Linked DNA regions of Homo sapiens: all the other regions are linked to region 1. Evidence: promoter capture Hi-C in human tissues and cell types (Jung and others, 2019). All regions are on one chromosome and are shown on one strand. Each heading gives the region's core, a stretch centred on a gene start or on the middle of the fragment in contact. The rest is flanking DNA. Distances are from core to core; before and after follow the strand shown. Region 1 holds the start of ZNF18 (zinc finger protein 18). Region 2 has its middle 100 kb from the start of PIRT. Region 3 overlaps TMEM220-AS1 (TMEM220 antisense RNA 1). Region 4 has its middle 40 kb from the start of ELAC2. Region 5 has its middle 22 kb from the start of ELAC2.

The links. The method cuts DNA at HindIII sites, captures the fragments that hold promoters and counts their contacts. A contact is called where the count stands out against the background at its distance.
Region 2: a fragment that was not itself captured here is called in contact with the fragment with the promoter of ZNF18 in region 1 in 1 of the 25 tissues and cell types used here (aorta).
Region 3: a fragment that was not itself captured here is called in contact with the fragment with the promoter of ZNF18 in region 1 in 1 of the 25 tissues and cell types used here (dorsolateral prefrontal cortex).
Region 4: a contact is called between a fragment that was not itself captured here and the fragment with the promoter of ZNF18 in region 1, in 1 of the 25 tissues and cell types used here (pancreas).
Region 5: a contact is called between a fragment that was not itself captured here and the fragment with the promoter of ZNF18 in region 1, in 1 of the 25 tissues and cell types used here (heart right ventricle).

The regions. Positions count from the first base shown.
Region 1 is chr17:11,996,074-11,999,782 of GRCh38, forward strand. It overlaps ZNF18 (zinc finger protein 18), which reads right to left and starts at 1,402. Exons shown (of 7, transcript NM_001303281.2): 1 at 1,358-1,402. RefSeq lists a silencer at 1,101-1,550 and enhancers at 1,483-2,466, 1,581-1,820, 1,891-1,970. The HindIII fragment of the contact is 7,782 bases long and covers 1-3,709 here.
Region 2 is chr17:10,938,264-10,942,254 of GRCh38, forward strand. No RefSeq gene overlaps it. Among named protein-coding and RNA genes, the nearest start is that of PIRT, 100 kb to the left of the region's middle. The HindIII fragment of the contact is 8,978 bases long and covers 1-3,991 here.
Region 3 is chr17:10,788,323-10,792,365 of GRCh38, forward strand. All of the region lies in intron 1 of TMEM220-AS1 (TMEM220 antisense RNA 1), which reads left to right. Among named protein-coding and RNA genes, the nearest start is that of TMEM238L, 14 kb to the right of the region's middle. The HindIII fragment of the contact is 7,595 bases long and covers 1-4,043 here.
Region 4 is chr17:13,056,281-13,060,281 of GRCh38, forward strand. No RefSeq gene overlaps it. Among named protein-coding and RNA genes, the nearest start is that of ELAC2, 40 kb to the left of the region's middle. The HindIII fragment of the contact is 3,964 bases long and covers 177-4,001 here.
Region 5 is chr17:13,037,769-13,041,902 of GRCh38, forward strand. No RefSeq gene overlaps it. Among named protein-coding and RNA genes, the nearest start is that of ELAC2, 22 kb to the left of the region's middle. The HindIII fragment of the contact is 3,904 bases long and covers 95-3,998 here.

The DNA of each region.
Region 1 (3,709 bases), core at 152-2,651:
AAAATCCCAATTTATGGAAATTACTAAATAATGCTCTTAACCCATAGTCAAAGAAAAAAATCACAAAGGAAATTAAAATATGTTTTCATACTGAGTGACAATGACAGCATTATCAAACCACCTGAAAAGCAGCTTTAGCTCAGAGGTAAACCTACAGTTTCAAATAACATCTTAAAAAACGAATAAATATATTTTTAAAAATACCTTGCTTTGTAAATCCAACCTATTTGGCTCAAGAGTTTCAAATAACAAGCGGCAAGATTTTAGATAGCAAGATACCGACCTGTAAACTTACTGCAATTTATCTGTTTCCTAAATTAAGATAGCAGTTTAGATAATATTTAAGAGAAATGACATTTTGGAAAAACTACAGATTTTATAAAATACTTAAATCTTTTGTTAGTAATATTATACTCCCAGGTAGTGTGTAAGAAAAATGTCTCGATTATTCAAAATTAAATTACTTTATATAGTATTAAAAATTTAATAGAGTTTATATTCCGATAACCTCATGAGGAACTGCCCCCATTAGTTATGAAAAAAAAATAAGGTTGTCTGTTATACCTGTTATTAAACCTTTAACAAATAGAATGAATTTTTAAAAGTGCATTCTAGGTGTAATATACACAAGTGGTTACATACATGGTTACATATATAAGTAACCATTTGTTAAGCACCTACTACGTATCGGCTCATTATTAAGCTCGGTTCATGTATTTCCAATTCCCACAATTACCCTGGTGTACAGATCAGGAACCTCCGAGGCTCACAAGTGGCAGCCAGATTAACCCAGGAAGCTCTAAAGCCTTTGCTTTGGGGAGAACTGCCAACGTCTGGTGATTTGTTGGGGCGTTTTCTGGTTGTCACAAGCAGCTAGGGGAACTGGCATTTAGTGCTCGAGGCCAGGGCAGCGCTGCTCATTGGATATGTATTCTCCACCATGCGCCCCCCAAATGCCGACTGCACTCTGATGAGAGAGGGAGAGACTCCAGGCATCATCCCATCGGGTTTCCTCTTCCAGAGACTCATTTTCAGCCCTTAGGGGAAGACAGCGGGGAGGAGCCCGTTTTCGGTCCCAGTGCAGAGACCCGGCCGGTCCCGCGGGGCGCAGAGGCGCAGGAATGCAGAGCCGGGACGGGGTTCACACATCCCCCCGCACCCACGGTCCACTCCCAGCCATGGCTGCCCCGGCCCCGCACTCGCCACGTCCCCCGCGCGCTCCCAGACGCATGGGCAAGGGAGCCCGCTGGCCCCTCCGTAGCTCCGGGGTGCCCAGCTGAGTCAGGTGCGGACGCAGATAGCGCAAGGCCTGACCCCGAGCGGCCGGAGGCCGGGACCGCCCCGCAAGCGCGCTCACCTCGGCCCGCGGCGCCGGCTCCGGGCGCACTTCCGGGAGCTGGGTGGCTGCGCGCGCCTCAGGCGGCAGGCGAACGACGTGCGGCACCGGGCGGAGCTAGGGGGCGGGGGCGGAGCTGATACCGAAGCTCCTATTGGCCGTCGGGGACGCCCCGCCTCTCTCTGGCGTTGCAGCCCAGGAGCCTCCACCGACATGGCAGCGAGGTTCCCGAGCCAACGCCATCCTCCGTTCCTTCCGTCACTCACTCACTAATCACTGTTCCTGAGTTCCTTCACTTCTCACCCGTCATTTATTGCGCACCTATTCTGTGCCAGGCACTCGGCCAAGCACTGCGAGGCCTTCAAAGATCATTTCTTTGTCTCTCCCAAACCCTTCCGCCCAGTCCCACCCGCAGAGCTGCAACGCTCTGCCATTATCCCTGATTCTTAACCGCCGCCTTTCTCCTTTCCGTTCTTGCCTCACTGGGCCTCCCTGAGACACTTGATTTGCCCCAACCTTCTTCCTCTGTCTTGGTTCTCCCACTCTCATCAGCTCTGCATCCCCTGGGTCCTCTCCCACTTCTCCCCATTCCGTTGGGGCTAGTCCAATGTGGTGCCATCCTCTTTCCACCTGCGTCTCTCTCTCTTCTCTCTCTCTCTCTCAACAAATGTCATCCCTGACTCTTCCCTTCTCCTTCCCTTTCCCACACGCCAACAATGGCTGAATCCTCTGATTTGACCTCATTGTCTCTCAGACACCTCACCCTCTCTCCCTTCTCACTATCCCTCCCTCGGCTCAGTTCCACACCATTTGTAATGGTCAAGACCTTCTTACCCTTTCCCCAGCGTCCAGTGTTGCCGGTTTCCAGGCCATCCTGTGCTGGGCCACGACATCAACTTGTGATACTAAGTTGCATTAATGGAAGTATCATGTCAAAGTTTGGGTGTTCCACCTTGGGCAACTGGCAAAGAGGAGGGTATTCAAAAAAAGCTGCCATGTTCCCCAATAACCTATGGAAATAAAATAAATAAAAAATAAAAATTTAAAGAAGAGCTGTCATTATCATAACATGTCCTGTACCTGTCATTATCATAACATGTCCTGTACCTGTCATTATCATAACATGTCCTGTACCTGTCATTATCATAACATGTCCTGTACCTGTCATTATCATAACATGTCCTGTACCTGTCATTATCATAACATGTCCTGTACCTGTCCCATGTTTACAAGAATTAAAGATCCTCCTCTGGAGAAATAAAGCTTGATGCGGGGATGGGATTACATCTTCATGTACCTGAAAAGTGACCAGCGGAAAAGGGATTCGACATGTTCTCTTAAGTCCCAGGGTCTGAACAAGATCCTATGTGTGAAACTACTGTTTCAGCCTGACATAGGTGGAAGTTTCTAGTCTTTTTTTTTTTTTTTTTTTTTTTTTGTATTTTTGGTGGAGACGGGGTTTCACCATGTTGGCCAGGCTGGTCTCGAACTCGTGACCTCAAGTGATCCACCCACCTTGGCCTCCCAAAGTGCTGGGATTACAGGCATGAGCCATGGCACCTAGCTGGACGTTTCTAACATTCATGTGATTGATGGCGCTGCTTTGAGTTCCTGAGGACAGCATGGCTAACAATTTACCAGGCACATTTAGAGGGACACCTTCATTGGGTATTGCTTCCAACATCAATGTGCTCTGCTTCTAAGAAAGTCAAGAGATAAGGTGGTTTAGAGGGGAAGATTATAGGAGTTTTATCTTCAATGTGTTCGCTTTTAGCTGATCAACACCCAAGGAAGATAACAGTAATTCAAAACCATTAATTGGGTTCTGACTCCTTTGTGAATCTGATGGAAGGTAAAATTTTTCCCAAGAAAAATGCACATACACATCTACATACAACACTTTGCACTCAAATCCAGGGAGCTAACACAGCCTTGAAACCCATCCTTGGAACCCACAAACCTCAGTTTGAGAACTCTAATCCTGGTAGATGGTTCCTGATATGAAAATGACACTTTGAAGTTTAATAATTTCTTTATAAACTGGCACCTTAGGAAAAGGCATAAACACTTATTTCGAAACAGGCTGAACAATCAAAATATTTTTTAAAATAGGGAGATATCTACCTCAGCTTAGGAAATAATGAAAAGGTGTCATCTATTTCTATTATTCACTTACTCATTCAATAAATATTTACCAGATGATGTGCCCAGCACTCTTCCAATAGCTATATATGCAAGAATGAACTAAACACACAAAGTCCCAGCCCTCCCAAGACTTATATTTTGTAGGGTGAGCTGGACAATAAATAAGTGCACAAGTGGTAATTATAGGTGTTGTGAAGAAAATTACATTGGGGTAAGGAGGAGAGGTAC
Region 2 (3,991 bases), core at 334-2,833, 1.1 Mb before region 1:
TATTTACTGTCTGGTATTTACTTGATGGCTATATTGCCATTTAGATATGTTGCCTTCAAAGCGGCAGTGGCCACCCACACAGGGAACTAGTGTTTGTGAGAAGAGAATGAACGTTGTTTGGAATATGTTGGTGTGAATTGTCAGCAGAGCACCTCTTCTTGAAGACCCAGTTGGAGAGAAGGTAGGTTAGAGTTTTAAGACTGGAGATGTGGATTATAGTGGCGACTCTGTAAACTCTCTTAGAAAGTGGGGACAGCGGGGAAGTTGGGTAATCCAAGCAAAACATTGCATGATTGGTTGAGGGAGGGCAAAACTCCTATTATTATGTATAAGGATATGGGATAAAAGCTCTCAGTTAGGATGACCAAACATCCTGTTTTACTGAGACTGAGGGAGCTCTCAGGACATGGGACTGTCAATGCTAAAACTGGATAGTAAGTCCCGGGCAGATGCAGATGAGTTGGCCACCTTACTGTGTGGAGGCTCAATTTCAAAAAGGAGGGACGCTATTTCCTCTAAAACGATAGCAAAGGAGACCCAAAGTAGATGAGTTCCAAGCAGTTAGAAAATGCACAGGTACTGGAGGGAGCAAGGCTCAGCTTCTATGCTAGGGAAAGTTTCTGATGCACAGGATCAGGGCTCAAGGTCTAGTACCATGTGGTGGTTTGGTTATAACCAACAGAAAATGGTTCTGGCTGACTTTGTGGGAGGGAATGTTGAAAGCCTATTAGAGAGTCACAGAAGGAGGAAAAGCTGGAGAGATACCCTTGCAACACTGTAGGTTAGGGAGAAGAAGCCCAGCTACCGTTTTGTGTCAGGGACACCCCAGTCAAAACAGTGGCACACAGACGACCTGGAATTGCCAACACTTTCAGTTCAGTTCAGGGAGGAAGCAGCCAACTGGCCCAGCCCAATACCTGACCAGGAGGGGGTGGGCAACCTGACAGCAGCCCCTCATGATGAATCCAAGAAGTAAGGGGGCTCCTTGGAAAAAATTGGGGTGTTGTGAGGAAGCAGACATTGGTACCAATCAAAAAGGTTAACAAAGTCCCACTATCAATCCCTAAAGACTGGCACTGACTTCCTACACACTCCACATGCCTCGTGTTTATTCATGTCTAGGTATATGTCTGCGCATATATTATGTGCATAGCAGGTGCTCAATACAATCTTGCTGGATATATAAACGAATGGATACTCCTACAGAGGAAAACACACTCCAGTTAGCAGCAAGGAAGATCAGTTCCTGTTCCCTTGCAAACCAGGAGCAACCACAGCCCACGCAAAGCCACAATCTCTGTCTTCACACCAGGGCAGGTCTCACCAGAGGGCATATAAAATGTCCTGAACATGCTGATATAAATCTGCCTCATAGATGTGAGTCACTTTATATAACTGACATCTTCCTAAGCAGTTGTTCTTAAGCTTATTTTTAGGAAAGATAAAATTTCAGATTCGGTAGGAGAGCTTACTGTTCATAGGAATAGCATACAGCAAATCTTTTTCTTTGTTGTATATGACTTCTTTTATAAATCTAGGTTATCTTTATAGATTAGATATTTTTAAAAGCAGAATAAACCCACTGTTGGCCGGCGTGGGGCCGGCGTTAGTTTATTTCAAAAAACCCATTAACTTCTTAGACCCAATTTCATATACACACAGCACCACTGATTGCTGACAAAGTGTTTCTGAGTGGAGGTCCTGGAGGACCACTTTGGAAACTCTCTGAATCCCCTTGGTAATTGGTTTTATCCATCTTTATTCTGACAATTAGTGCGCTGAAGTCCTTAAAATCAGTATGTTCTTGTAATTCCCTTAAATAGGATTTAGGCAATCTATTTGACTTCAGGAACCCTTTTCTTGCAGGGAATGCAAAAGCATGAACTTTATTCTCAATTCAGAGAACAGATCAACAAAATTTAGGTGTAATTTCAAACAGCAATCTGCATGGGCTCTTCACTTTCCAGGCACAGGGCTGGAGACACAGCCTGAGTGCGCATGAAGTCTAGTCTCCTCTGGCCAGTAATTAATTCGCTTCTCTTTTATGTTTGGGGATTTGGTCCTGTTCCTCCTCAAGAAAATTTTGCATTTCCTTATGTACAGTTGGACTATCTAGTGATTCTAGCCTGCGTTCCTCTTGATGACACATATTGACTTTCACCATTTCTCCATTAAGTAGGATTTGTGTCATTTCAGCATTTGTGTTAGCTTTTGTTTCTTGTTATTAGGGATTATGCATGAAAGCAGGAAGAAGTCTCAGTACTAAGATTCTGGGCCTGTCTGGACATTTCCAGTGCTTAGAGTTGAATGCTATAATATATCTAAAGGTGCTTTAAAAAACCAACAGGCCGGGTGCGGTGGCTTACACCTATAATCCCAGCATTTTGGGAGGCCGAGGAGGGTGGATCGTGAGGTCAAGAGATCCAGACCATCCTGGCCAACATGGTGAAACCCTGTCTCTACTAAGAATACAAAAATTAGCTGGGTGTGGTGGTGTGCGCCTGTAATCCCAGCTACTCGGGAGGCTGAGGCAGGAGAATCACTTGAACCCGGGAGGTGGAGTTTACAGTGAGCCGAGATCATGCCACTGCACTCCAGCCTGGGCGAAAGAACGAGACTCCAACTCAAAAAACAAACAAACAAACAAACAATAAAAGGTGAGATTATTGCATGGGATTGCCAAGGAAAAATATCTCCCACTTTGGGGCACAGGTCCAACATAAACCTTTGTCAATACACTTCTGGTGGTTGGATTTGAGGTGTCTCATTACCCACTTATAAGTTGCTGGCCAAGGTGCCTACGAAGTCATCACAATTCTCCATTCAGGCTGGTTTCTGCCTGTCATATGTCACCCCTTAAGCTACAGGGGCCAGGCCTATTTAGCAGAAAGAGGTTTCATTACCAGTAACACTGCTGACGCTTGAGCTCAGAGGTAGCAAGTTCCTCGCCCTGATGCTGCTGCTGTTCCCACCAGAGCCCTTGTCAAACATCATATGACATTCTTGATGAACCCAAATATGGGCTCGCAAACTTCAACTATAGGATGCTCCACTGATTATGGATGGGCTTATGAATTGAAACCTAATTAAAATCCTGGTGAAGATCATGGGGGCTTAGGAAAAGGCTTCCAACATCTGGCAGAAGACAGGGTCTGATGACCTTGGACATTTCTTTGAATTCTAAGGACTATGATTCCATACTAGGTGGGGAGCAACATCACTGTTAGTCCTCCCTTATATTAAAAGGGAACATATATATTTATGTGTAATACATAGCATGCTTTGCCTTAACGTGACATTTTTTTGCAGCTTGTCTCAGTGAAGCTACATAGGGCTCAGGGAGACCTTGCCCAGGTAGGCTTGTAGGTGCTTATTCTAGAAACCCATCTGCTACTAACTGCAGCTGTCACTCAGAGTGAACTCACTGGCTGATCAAAGCCCTCCTCTTTCTGAGCATAAAATGAAATCTGAAAAGCAAAGCCATGTTGCTGACACCTCTTGGGCAAAGCCTTTTATAGGGGGAAGTGTCAATGTTTGTAGGTCCCATTTTTATGTCCTGCTCCAGTCCTGGCAACCCCGCTGGCTGCTGTCAGCAGCCAAGAGGCACCAAGGGTGTGGAAAATCAAAGCTCTCTCTTGCCACCAGAGAGTTAAACCCCAAAAGGCCTGTACTGAATGATTACTTGGAATGCTGAAAGGGTTTTTTTATTCTCTTTCAGGTCAGCTTTGCTGATATCCAGGGGCTAAGTATAACTGTAAGCATGAACATTTCAATAAATATGTTTCCTTCAATTACCCAGCTGGACAGTTTAGTTCACCAGACCCTGCAAGCATACAAAAGCTGCTGGGGAATTGTTGTGATTTAGATAATTTCTAATCTCCTCTTTGCTTAACCTGCAGGGGCCATGGGCAGTCTCAGAGACCAGGGGGAAGAGAGAGGGAGGTGGGGAGAGCTTGTTCTCATCAACCTGAGATGTAGGTCCTTGGCTCAG
Region 3 (4,043 bases), core at 658-3,157, 1.2 Mb before region 1:
AGCTGCCCTAGGCTGGCGGGACCAATGGCACAGCGAGAGCCATGGAGGGAAAGGCAGATATCACAGCCATTTGTCCCCAGGTGTGACTCAGGAAGTTTTTAGGCCAGCAGCAAGAGGTGTTATTTGAGAGCCACATTAGAAGAATCCCCATCTCTCTCCTGAGCCACTATGACCAGCAGAAATTTGAAAACGAGAAAACCCAGCCTCAAGGGGAGTAGGATGCTTGCTTAAAGAAATACAATTGTTTTGCCCAGTGGTTCTCAGACCATAGCTGTCATCAGAATCACTGGGAAGCCTTTTTTTTTTTTTTTTTTGTGAGGCGGAGTCTCGCTCCGTCACCAGGCTATAGTGCAGTGGTGTGATTTCGGCTCACTGCAACCTCTGTCTCCCAGGTTCAAGCGATTCTCCTGCCTCAGCCTCCTGAGTAGCTGGGATTACAGGCGTGCGCCACCACGCCCGGCTAATGTTTTGTATTTTTAGTAGAGATAGGGTTTCATCGTGTTAGCCAGGATGGTCTCCATCTCCTGACTTCGTGATCTGCCCGCCTCGGCCTCCCAAAGTGCTGGGATTACAGGCGTGAGCCACTGTGCCTGGCCGGGGAGACTTTTTAAACTGCAGACACAGAGGGACCCAATCCCAGAGTTTCTGATTAAGTAGGTCTGCGGTGAGACTGACAATCTGTATGTCTTACAAGGTTCCAGGGGCTGCTGCCGCGGCTGGTCCACTGGAACCACACTTTGAGAAACCTTTTCCCATTTCTCACTTTCTCTCTTCCATGGCTTTGCCACTGCTGTTCTCCATCCCAGCCTTCTTTTAATCCTCCTTCCATCAACGTCATTCCCTCAATACCTTTCACCCTTCCCCCACCCCACCGAGACCCCTCTCCTTCCTTTTCCCTCCTTTTTTGTACACCAGGCCCAGCAAGCTCCCCCATCCCACATGACTTTTTCCCCAAACAAAGGGAAACTCGATTTCCTTGAAAATTGAAATGTGAAAGAGATGGGAGGAAAAATGAGTGCACCCCCCTAGTTGGTGAGGACACCTGTTGCAGGTGACTTAAGACGGTATCAGCTGGACAGGACTTGAGGTTCTTCACAGCTGACAGAGCTGCTTGGGGCTGGTGCAGTCTGGGAGGACTCCAAATGACATGGTTTGTTTTCCTGTGCCCAGAGAGAAGATGGACAAGAGGGGTTCACCCAGAGGGCAGCCCTCAGGCAGGCACAAGTTCAGCATCAAAAACCCTTTAAGGTGAAGTTATAAGACTTGAGCGGGCATCAGAATCCCCTGGAGGGCTTGTTGAATACCCATTGCTGACCCCTACCCCCGTTGCTGCTCCGTTAGCAGGTCTAGGATACAGTTAGTATGACCAGCCAGCCTGGTTTGCCCAGGACTGATCAGGGTTCTCAAGATGTGGAATTTTCAATACTGAAACCAAGAAAGTCCTGGGGAAACTGGGATGAGTTTGTTACTCGACGGAGTGCTGAAGTCTTTGCATTTCTAACAAGCTCCTAGGGGAGGCTGAGGCTGCTGGTCCAGGGACTGCACTTTGAGAATCACTGCTCTATTGTTCCCAGGGAGCTACAGAGGTCTGGTGTTGGGTGTTGTAGCCCTGGACTCTTCTTCAGAGTGAGAGGTCCTGGGCAGGGGTCAGAGTTCAGATTCTGAATAGCTGCAGCCAGGGAGGTAGATGTGAACTTGGGAAGGGAGGGTCACAGAGCCCCAGATTGATGCGGAGTGGAAGGGATTAGTCAGAAAGATGGGGTCAAGGGGTGAGAGGACATCCAAGCTGAGTCTGTGTGTGTTGGGTATATGCCCAACACAGAAAAAAGCTTTGATGGAGGGCCTCTGTCCTTTTCACTGTGGGATAAGCCTGTGGCTTTGGCTGGAAGTGAACTGGGTGAAATAGGTAAGAGCTGTTCTCGAGGGCTGGGGCTGGTGCAGGCACAGCTAGTTTGAAGAAAGAAAAACAAGAAAGGAAAGAAAAGAAATAGATAATAGTAAACTGGGTGCCGAAACTTGGAAAGCAGAGGCAGGCCAAATTCGGCATTTAAGGTGTTAACTTATAAAATAGTGTGTAGAAATGGCATGCAAATTATTTGCATGCTGACTTGGGGGGGTTTGGGTACACACAGACCAGTGCAGTATGGGGTATGGCAGAGATGTCTGATGGCAGGGTGGCTCCAGTGGGAATCTGTACCTTACTTCTCCCTTCCTTTTCTAAAAGTTACCAGTGTCAAATGCTAAGGAACCTTCCAAGTTCCGGTTGAGGCAGTCTTTGGGACCCAGGCTGGAATGAGGCCCAAGGTGACCATCTGTTGAATAAAGGAACACACGTAAGCCTGCAACCATGTGGCTACTGTAAAGTCACAGGCACTTGCTTCTGGCCATTCCCTTTGTTTAGTCCTTGGATCTGTGCATAGCACTGGCTCACACAGCAAAGCTGTGGTATTCCCAGATTCATATTCAGCTTCTGGTATTCTGAGCCTTTCTTCCCAATACCCCTGACAAGAAATGGCTTTTTTGTTATCCTTGTTTTCCTGGCTAGCGCCTATTCCCCTTGTGTGCCTGCCCTGCCAAGAAACTTCTGGGAGTCTTGGAAGAACTGATTCAGCTCTTAAACAAGTTCAGTCAGCTATTAGTTGGCATCTATTGTTTTATTTTTCTGCCAGATTATTACTCTGTCTACCAGGAACAAACACAAGTGTATGCTGGATGCCTTCAAGTGCTGAGATGTATATCCCAGTATCATAGAGAGTATGTTTCCCCCGCAATTCTATTCCTTTTTGCAACCCTTTTTCTCTGAGAACAAACACAGATGGAAGGTAAAGGAAGCTGAACATATCCGTGTGAAGTTTCTGCTACTAGGCCAAGCCTGTTTGCCTGACTCCCTGTACCCTTAGGGTTTGTTTTTACCCAGGAGGCTCTCCGATCCTTTATGCAAATACATTTCTGAGCCTGCCTCAACGGTGGCGGTCAGCTTGTGATCCAGCCAGGATAAGCTCCCCTTCCTCAATTGTACTGTAATTTCACTGAGAGATGAGTTCAATCTGAGGGGCTTCGAGGCTACTGATTGGGGGGTGGGCTGACCTTCCACCTAGTATGACCGCCTTCCCCTGGTTTTGTGGGTCCTGTTGGTCATCTCTGCAATAAGCCATGGGGATGAGGTTGTGAGAAATGTGGACTTGATCATTATGGCAAACCTTACCTTAAATAGCTTTGAAAACAACAGGTTTATAGCCCTAGAATCAGGAGGTGATGGCCTAAGATTTACAGCTCTACATTTTGATTTTTTTTTTTTTTTGAGACGGAGTTTTGCTGTAGGAGTGCAATGATGCGATCTTGGCTCACCACAACCTCTGCCTCCCGGGTTCAAGCGATTCTCCTGCCTCAACCTCCGGAGTAGCTGGGATTACAGGAATGCACCACTATACCGGGCTAATTTTGTATTTTTAGTAGAGAAGGGGCTTCTCCACGTTGGTCAGGCTGGTCTCGAACTCCCGACCTCAGGTGATCCACCTGCCTCAGCCTCCCAAAGTGCTGGGATTACAGACATGAGGCATGATACCTTCTAAGGTATTTGCCAATTCAGGAGGCTGCAGAAGTCCTGAAGACTGGTGCTGGATCACTTGTGATTGTGATGTCATTATTATTACCTCCTAATAGGAGGGGGCTACCTATAGTCACTCAGCCTGTAAGTGGCAGGGTGGACAGAGTTCAGGTCACTGAAAAGGCCCAATTGCCTCTAGAGGGAATGAACAGGAGGAGGGGCCATGAGGTGGGCCTGGGGAACAGTAGGAGGCTCACCATGCCCAGCCCTTTGGTGGAGAGCTTTCTGGGAGGACAAGTCCAGATCAGATGTAGTCCGGCTCAATGTGGAGCTGCCTGGTGGCATTGTGGCCCCTCCTATTTCCTCCTCCCTCCCTGCCCTGTGTGAGGGGCACCCATGGGCTCAGTGCTGTGGTATCTGAAGTGACGCAGAGCAGCGTGGAGGCCTGTTCCTTCCTGGGCACGCGGCACAGCCAGGGTGAGGCCCGAGGGGGAAA
Region 4 (4,001 bases), core at 909-3,408, 1.1 Mb after region 1:
AAATTGTTGACACACAAAACAACATGGATAGGTTTAAAAGGCCTTACACCGAGTACAAGAAGCCAGACTCAAAAGTAACATATTACAGAATTGCATTTATATGACATTAAAAAAAAGACACAACTTTTGGGACAATAAATGGATCAGTGGTGGCCAACGTGACGTGACGGGATACCTGACTATAGATGGATGGCAGGAGGCAGTTTTTAAGGTGATTTAATTATTCTTTATTCCTATTATAGCATTATTCACACAAATCTTTACACATGCTGAAACTCATAGAAGTGTACATATACCAAGAAAGTTACAATTACTGCCTGGTCATTTGAAAAATAAGTATTGAGATGTTTTGTTGTTATTTTAATTAAATCACTTCCATATTTTATTCTAACATTGGCTTAAAACCATGTCCCAAAGATCTACCACGTTTCTGTCATGTTAAATTGCCGCCCTGTTTTCTCGTATCTGAGAATTGTCGGGGTTTTCCATGAAGAATCAAGGAGTTTGGAAGTGTTAGTGGGTTGGTTGATCCTTTGGGGGACCTCTACCAATGGAGCCTAGGAGAGGCGCAAGGACAGGTGTCGAGATGCTTTCTTATCCAAATCAGCTTTTTTTGTTTTGTTTTGTTTTGATAGAGTCTTGTTCTGTTGCCCAGACTGGAGTGCAGTGGGGCGATCTTGGCTCACTGCAGCCTCTGCCTCCCAGGTTCAAGTGATTCTCCTGCTTCAGCCTCCCAGGTAGCTGTGATTACAGGTGCATACCGCCATGCCTGACTAATTTTTGTATTTTTAGTAGAGATGGGGTTTCACCATGTTGGCCAGGCTGGTCTTGAACTCCTGACTTCAGGTGATCTGCCCACCTCAGCCTCCCAAAGTGCTGAGATTACAGGCGTAAGCTACCATGCCTGGCCTAAAGCCAGCCCTTTTCAACCATGCTTCCATTCTAGGAACAAGAACCATGCAAAGGAATGGTTGGGCATGTGTTTGTTTTATGAGAACTTCAGTTACCTCAAGTAATGGGGGCTTATTGAAAATGTACACTAGCATAGAACCCAGGAAAAGCCAGACACGGAGGCCTCAAGAAGAGTAGGAAGCTGCAGATGGGTGTCTTCATCCGTTCTTGCACTGCTATTAAGAAATAACTGACACTGGGTAATTTATAAAGGAAACAAGCTTAATTGGCTCACAGTTCTGCAGGCTGTACAGAAAGCATAGCAGCTTCTGCTTCTGGGGAGGCCTCAGGAAGCTTCCAATCAAAGGGGAAGCCAGGCATCTCACATAGGTAGGAGCAGGAGGAAGACTCGGGGGAGGTGCCACACAAATTTTGTTTGTTTGTTTGTTTTTCAGACAGAGTTTTGCTCTTGTTGCCCAAGCTGGAGTGCAATGGCACGATCTCGGCTCACTGCAATCTCCGCCTTCTGTATTAAAGTGATTCTCCTGCCTCAGCCTCCTGAGTAGCTGGGATTACAGGCACCTGCCACCACGCCCAGCTAATTTTTTGTATTTGTAGTAGAAACGGCGTTTCACCACGTTAGCCAGGCTGGTCTCAAACTCCTGACCTCAGGTGATCTGCCCGCCTTGGCCTCCCAAAATACTGGGATTACAAATCTCATGAGAACTCACTCACTAATCATGAGAATGGCGTCAAGGGGGATGGTACTAAACCATTGATGAGAAGCCACCTCCACGATCCAATCACCTCCCACCAGGCCCCACCTCCAACATTGGGGATTACAATTCCACATGAGATTTGGTTGGGCGGGGACGGAGATCCAAACCATGTCAGTGGGATGAATCCAAGATGGCTCAGTGGACTTCCACAGCTGGAGCTGGTGAATCTTTGCTCTGGGTTCCACCATTCATCATGATTAAGCTGATCTTCTCCTGTCTGCTTCTTCCTGTCTCACTACTAAATGGTTTATTCTTTACCTTAATTCTTCATATCCTTTCTCTATCTCATAGCTTTTCTTCACTAAATTCAGCTAATGGCTACAGCTGTACCTCAGTTCAGCTCTCACTGCTAACTGTGTGTTTCTTGCTGCATAGGAACTGGTCCATTTATGGTTTTGTGCCAGTCCACATCTCAGGTTGCTGGCCAGCTTACAAATGGGGTCCTATTACTAGGTGTGGGAAAAGCCACCTGGCTTTTCGGGCTGCATCTTCATGGGACAGTCTTATCTGGAAGAGGCTGTGGGCTTGGAGGCACCATGGTAACCCCGTGGAGGATAATATTCCACAATTAGCAAACCATATAAAATAGGACATAACAAAATGGCACGTTTTGTTTAAGAAACAGTAAGAGTCAGGCCGGGTGCGGTGGCTCAAGCCTGTAATCCCAACACTTTGGGAGCTGAGGCGGGTGGATCACCTGAGGTCAGAAGTTCCAGACCAGCCTGGCCAGCATGGTGAAACCCAGTCTCTACTGAAAATACAAAACTTAGCTGGGCGTGTTGGCGGGCGCCTGTAATCCCAGCTACTCAGGAGGCTGAGGCAGGAGAATTGCTTGAACCTGGGAGGCAGAGGTTGCAGTGAGCCGAGATGGCCCCACTGTACTCCAGCCTGGGCGACAAGAGCAAAACTCTGTCTAAAAAAAACAAAAAAAAAAAACAGTAAGAGTCAAAGATTGTGAAAAGTCTGCCTCATTTATTTCTTGCTGGTCTTGGGGTGGAGCACAGACAAATGAGGACATAAGCAGTATGATGCGATGGGCCTTAGGTGCCCCTAGATGTGGGCATCTGGGACAACTTCTCTCATGGCGATTCCTGCAGTACCAGAGGATTTCTTAAGTACCTTGAGCTACCCATGGTGGAAGGATTAGTTCTCCCACTGCACTAGCAGCTTGGATAATTTTTCATCCACAAGGTGTGCCGATGCCTGGCTCCTGGGATAGAGAACTAGGCTTGGAGCCATAATGGGAAGCAAATCTCTCCGGATTGGGGCACATGAAGTGATGAAAAGCTTTGACGGTGGGTGAGAAGGAGTGCTGATCCCACAACCGGCGGCATGGCCTCTATTAAAACCAGGCCTCCTGCCCCATCAGACACACAAGTTTCTCTTAACTCTGCCCATCAGGTATGAAAACTTTTAGGAAAATAACATTGACCAAAGCCCAGGGCTGCGACTGGGGAAGTGATCCTTGGTGTGCCGAGACATGAGTCCGTGACATCTGGAATGATCCTTTGGGGACATTTGGGGCTCCAATTAAATATGATTCAGCCTGGGTGGTCAGGCAAACCCTCAGGGACCCATGTGACCGGCCCGAAGTTTTCACCACTCTCCACACAGAACAGTGTTTTCAAAGCAGTTTGAAGCACATTGTACTCCCATTTAAAAAATAACCCCTTGCAGCCGGGCGCGGTGGCTCATGCCTGTAATCCCAGCACTTTGGGAGGCCAAGGCGGGTGGATCATGAGGTCAGGAGTTTAAGACCAGCCTGGCCAAGATGGTGAAACCCATCTTCACTAAAACTACAAAAAATAGCCAGGTGCGATGTCAGGCACCTGTAATCCCAGCTACTCGGGAGGCTGAGGCAGGAGAATCCCTTCAACCCGGGAGGTGGAGGTTGCAGTGAGCCAAGATCACGCCACTGCACTCCAGCCTGGGTGACAGAGTGAGACTCTGTCTCAAAATAAATAAATTAATTAATTAATAAAAAAAAAACCCTTCCATATTTAAACACATTTAAAACTGAAACAACCATAGCCCCACTCCCGAGGGATGACCATTGTTTACATTCTGCTGTATGTCTTTCCAATATTATTATTGTACATATATTTGGAGGTAAAATAGTCTCATACCATCAGTCTGCACAGTTCAATATGGTAGCCACTAGCCACATATAGCTCTTCAAATTAGAATAGAAAAAAAACTAAAATCAAAATTAAAATTCAGTCTCTCATTTGTAGTAGCCACACTTCAGGTGCTCAGAAGTTGTACATGGCTTTTGGGAAATACAGATAAAGAACATTTTCATTAACACAGAAAGTTCTGCTGGACAGCATT
Region 5 (4,134 bases), core at 797-3,296, 1.0 Mb after region 1:
CTTTCCTCCTGATAGTCTGTGTTTTATCAACTGAATTCTCAGGCCCAACCACAGAACCTAAGAGGGTAGAAGAAAAGTTTTTCCTTCCCTAGAGTTCTCACGCATTGTATTTCCCCTCAATTTCCTCTTTGTCTCTACCTTGACTATTTTTATTATTTTTGTTTCGTTTGGTTTGGTTTGAGATGGAGTTTTGCTCTGTTGCCCAGGCTGGAGTGCAGTGGCATGATCTCGGCTCACTGCGACCTCTGCCTCCCAAGTTCAAGCGATACTCCTGCTTCAGCCTCCCGAGTAGCTGGGATTACAGGCGTGTGCCACCACACCAAACTAATTTTTGTATTTTTAGTAGAAACAGGGTTTCACCATGTTGGTCAGGCTGATCTCGAACTCCTGACCTCAGGTGATCCACCCGCCTTGGCCTCCCAAAGTACTAGGATTATAAGCGTGAGCCACTGTGCCTAGCCTACTCTGACTGTTTTTAAAATCCACATTCAAATCTTCACTTTTCCATAAATGCTTCCCAGGTCACTATTGGCTTGTTGATGAAACTGCAGACTCTTCCCTCACCCCCAGTTCACCCTGAGGAGTAGGACGATTGTGCATATGAAGGGTGAAAAGCTTGGATGGATTAGACTGGAGAGGTTGGGAGAGGAGCTCGTAAGACCATCTGCTCCCTTTCAGGTGTCATGTGGCATTGGTTTGAACTCTTTTCAGAATGAAAAGAACAACTTACGGGCTTCAGCAAAAAAGAACAGTTACTAGCTCAATGAAGTGTAAAGGCCAGAGGCAGACATGGTAGGGAATCTTCAGTGATGACTATATCTAGGCACTTGCTATAGTTTGGAAGTTGACCCTCCTAACCTCATATTGAAATTTGATCTCCAGTGTTGGAGATGGGGCCTGGTAAGAGGTGTTTGGGTCATGGGGGCATGTCCCTCATGAATGGCTTGGTGCCATCCTGGTGGTAGTGAGTGAGTTCTTGCTCAACTGGTTCTTTCAAGAGCTGGTTGATAACAAGAGACTGGCACCTCACCCTTCTCTTGGTTCCTCTCTCACCATGTGATTTCTGCACACACTGGATCCCTTTCACCTTTCAGCATAAATGGAAGCAGTCTGAGGCCCTCACCAGAAGCAGATACTGGAAACATTCTTCTTATACAGTCTGCAGAACCATGAGCCAAATAAACCTCTTTATTTTAAAATTACTCAGCCTCAGATATTCCTTTATAGCAACACCAATGTTCAAAAGATATCACCAGGAATTTGTCCCACTCTACCTCTGAGTCCCACGCTCCTCTTTGTCGGTCTAATTCTCAGATGGGCTCTACCCAGGAGGAAGCAGATGGATATTGGAAGCTCCAGGCAGATGGTCCATTATCTTAGTATCCCTGGCAGAAAGGGAAGGTCTTGTTCACAAATGTTCCAATGAAAGTCTTGGGGATGAGGTTCATTAACTTTCATTGGCTAGTTTGGATTGTATGCCCAACTCTGAACAATCCCAGAAGTAGGGGGACTTCTTATTTGCCAAGATGGTTTCCTTGCCCACCTATAGAATGAAGGGAAAGGGCCAGCCCATCCTAACCTTATAGACTGATGGCGAGAAAGAAATGGCCTCCTAAAGCAAAATAGGGATGATATTATCACCAGAAAAAATCATCTCTGGCCATCCAAAAATGACAGATGGTTCTTCATACACTCTTTTGAATCTGATAATTTTAGAAGTCTGCTGTCCTCTTTCTGTATTGGCCTTGGAAATATCTCTTGTCAAAGGACTGGGTCTACCCCTGCCTATCAGACTGTTTCTCCTCTTAATGCTGTTTTAAATTCTGTACTTACAACAAAGGAGTCACGCAGTCACACAGGCTTAATCAAACCTTGACAAAATTTGTCTTTATAGCTCATACTCATTCCAGGCCAGTAACTGGAAAGCCAGTTAACCAGAATATAGGATTGTGTTAGATCATGGTGGGCTGTACCAGATGCCCTTTTCAAGGCCCACACACCCGTTTCCTAGCTCCTAGGAATATCGTTCATAGCTGTGAGGGCTCACAGTCATGGTCATCGTTGAGAATTGTCCATGGCTACAGGGAACTGCTTTACCCTGAGATTACAAAAGCTCAGCCCTCTTACCTCAACTGCGGGCATCTCTGAAGAGTTACTCCAACTGCAGAGCTCCCTGTTGTACTGGCTGAGGCGTCAGCTGCAGCTACATTGTGGGTCAATTTTCCCCTCTGCCTATTCTTGCCTTTCCTCTTTCCTTACTGCTGTCTTTTCCACAGTGAACTTTCTATATGCAACTCATTCCAGAATCTGTTTCCAGGGAACCCAATAAGACATCTGGACTCCTCTCTTTATGGTCAGTCCACTTATTGCCCTACAAGAAATAAGTAAACTTCACCTTTTAAAGTCTCTAATTTGGGGAATAGGTTTTCTGTTGTCCTGGTCTAACCTCTGTCTTAGGTAGGCTCTGGGTGCCTGGGGTTTGGGGCATCTTCTTGGGACAATTTCACCGGAAACAACACACAGATGCAAGCATGCAACTGAATTGGCTGATTTCTTATTAGTTGGATGAATATTTTGCTGAATTTTCAAGTGATAAATGCAGAATAGACTTGGATGGAAGTGAAGTGATCACGCTTAGTGGGAGAGAGAAAAGCAGATTTGTTGTTCTGAGAGCTGTTGTCTCATGGGTGTCTCTGCTCATCACTCAAGGCTCAGTTCAATGTTACCTCTTATAAGAAGCTTTTCCTGCTCGTTAAAGGCACTTGTTGTCTGGCCTTTCTTTTTATGTTTTACATGTTTTTGTCAAGTCTTTGCACACAGACACAAATCATTACAAATACTGTATAATGTCTCCTCCAGAAAGGTGTTTTACAAACTTCTTTTAAGAAAACACATGGAACATAAGATTTATTATAGGAATTAGATCCTATACATCGTAGGAGGAGTTGGGGAATGAAGATCCAGAAAGAGGAGTTGAAGGATCGGAGAAATGTCATCCACCAGCCCTCCTGAAGCACCAGCATAGTGACGTTAAATTAAGCTTACCCTAAAGCTGTCTCCTTGCATATATTTTACATTCAGTCTCCAAGTTGCTCCCTACATAGTGAACTGGAACCTAAGCAGATGTGTAAACAGGTTGTCTCCTATTCTTGTACCAATCACCGAATTTTGGCCAATCACAGGCAGCCAACTGTTCAAACCCTGTTCAAACAAGGCAGAGGCTAAGCTGTAACTAATTTAGCTGCTTCTGTACCTCATTTCCATTTTCTGTACATCGCTTTCCTTTTTCTGTCCATAAATCCTCTCCGATCACACAGCAGCGCTGAGTCTCTGTGAACCTATTCTGGTTGGGGGAGGAAAGGGCTGCCCAATTTGCGAATCATGCTTTGCTCAATTAAACTCTGTCAATTTAATTTGTCTAAAGTTTTTTTTTTTTTAAATTTTAAACAGTGAACATGTCAGACTTTACAGGGCAGTCTTGGAGGCAGGCATGTCTAGCTGCCAGATTTTTAAATGTTTTTACCACAGTCCACAGTAAGAAACATCTTTTATATCAAGATCCGGAAGGAAGACACACAAACACATATATGAACAGTTGAGAACAAAACTTCCACAAAATAACACTAATTCCTACCTTGTCCAACTGAGGTATTATCATAAAATATGTTTTCTCTTTGTTACTGATTCTTGACACAGAACTCCTAAAACCCTTGGAATTTCCTGAGCTATAGGAGTGTCTTTTGTATGCTAACAAGATGACTCGTAGGGTGAAGTATAAGATAGCTTTAGAATAGGGGCTAGTTGTACAATTAAAGAGTTGGACTTTTCAGCTGCAATCCCCAACCTCCAAGAGAGCAGAGAAGGGCTAGAGATTGAGATCAATCACTAATGACCAGTGATTTAATCAGTTATGCCCACATAATGAAACCGCTCTATGAAACACAGAACTACAAGGTTTAGGGGAGTTCTCTGGTTGGTGAACCCATCTATGTACTGGGAGGGTGATGTACCCCAGCTCTACAGGGACAGAGGCTTCTGAGCCCTGGGTCCTTCCTGACCTGACCTTCTATCCTTCATCTGGCTCTTCATTGGTCTCCCTGATAATAAACTGGAATAGTAAGTGTAGCATTTTCC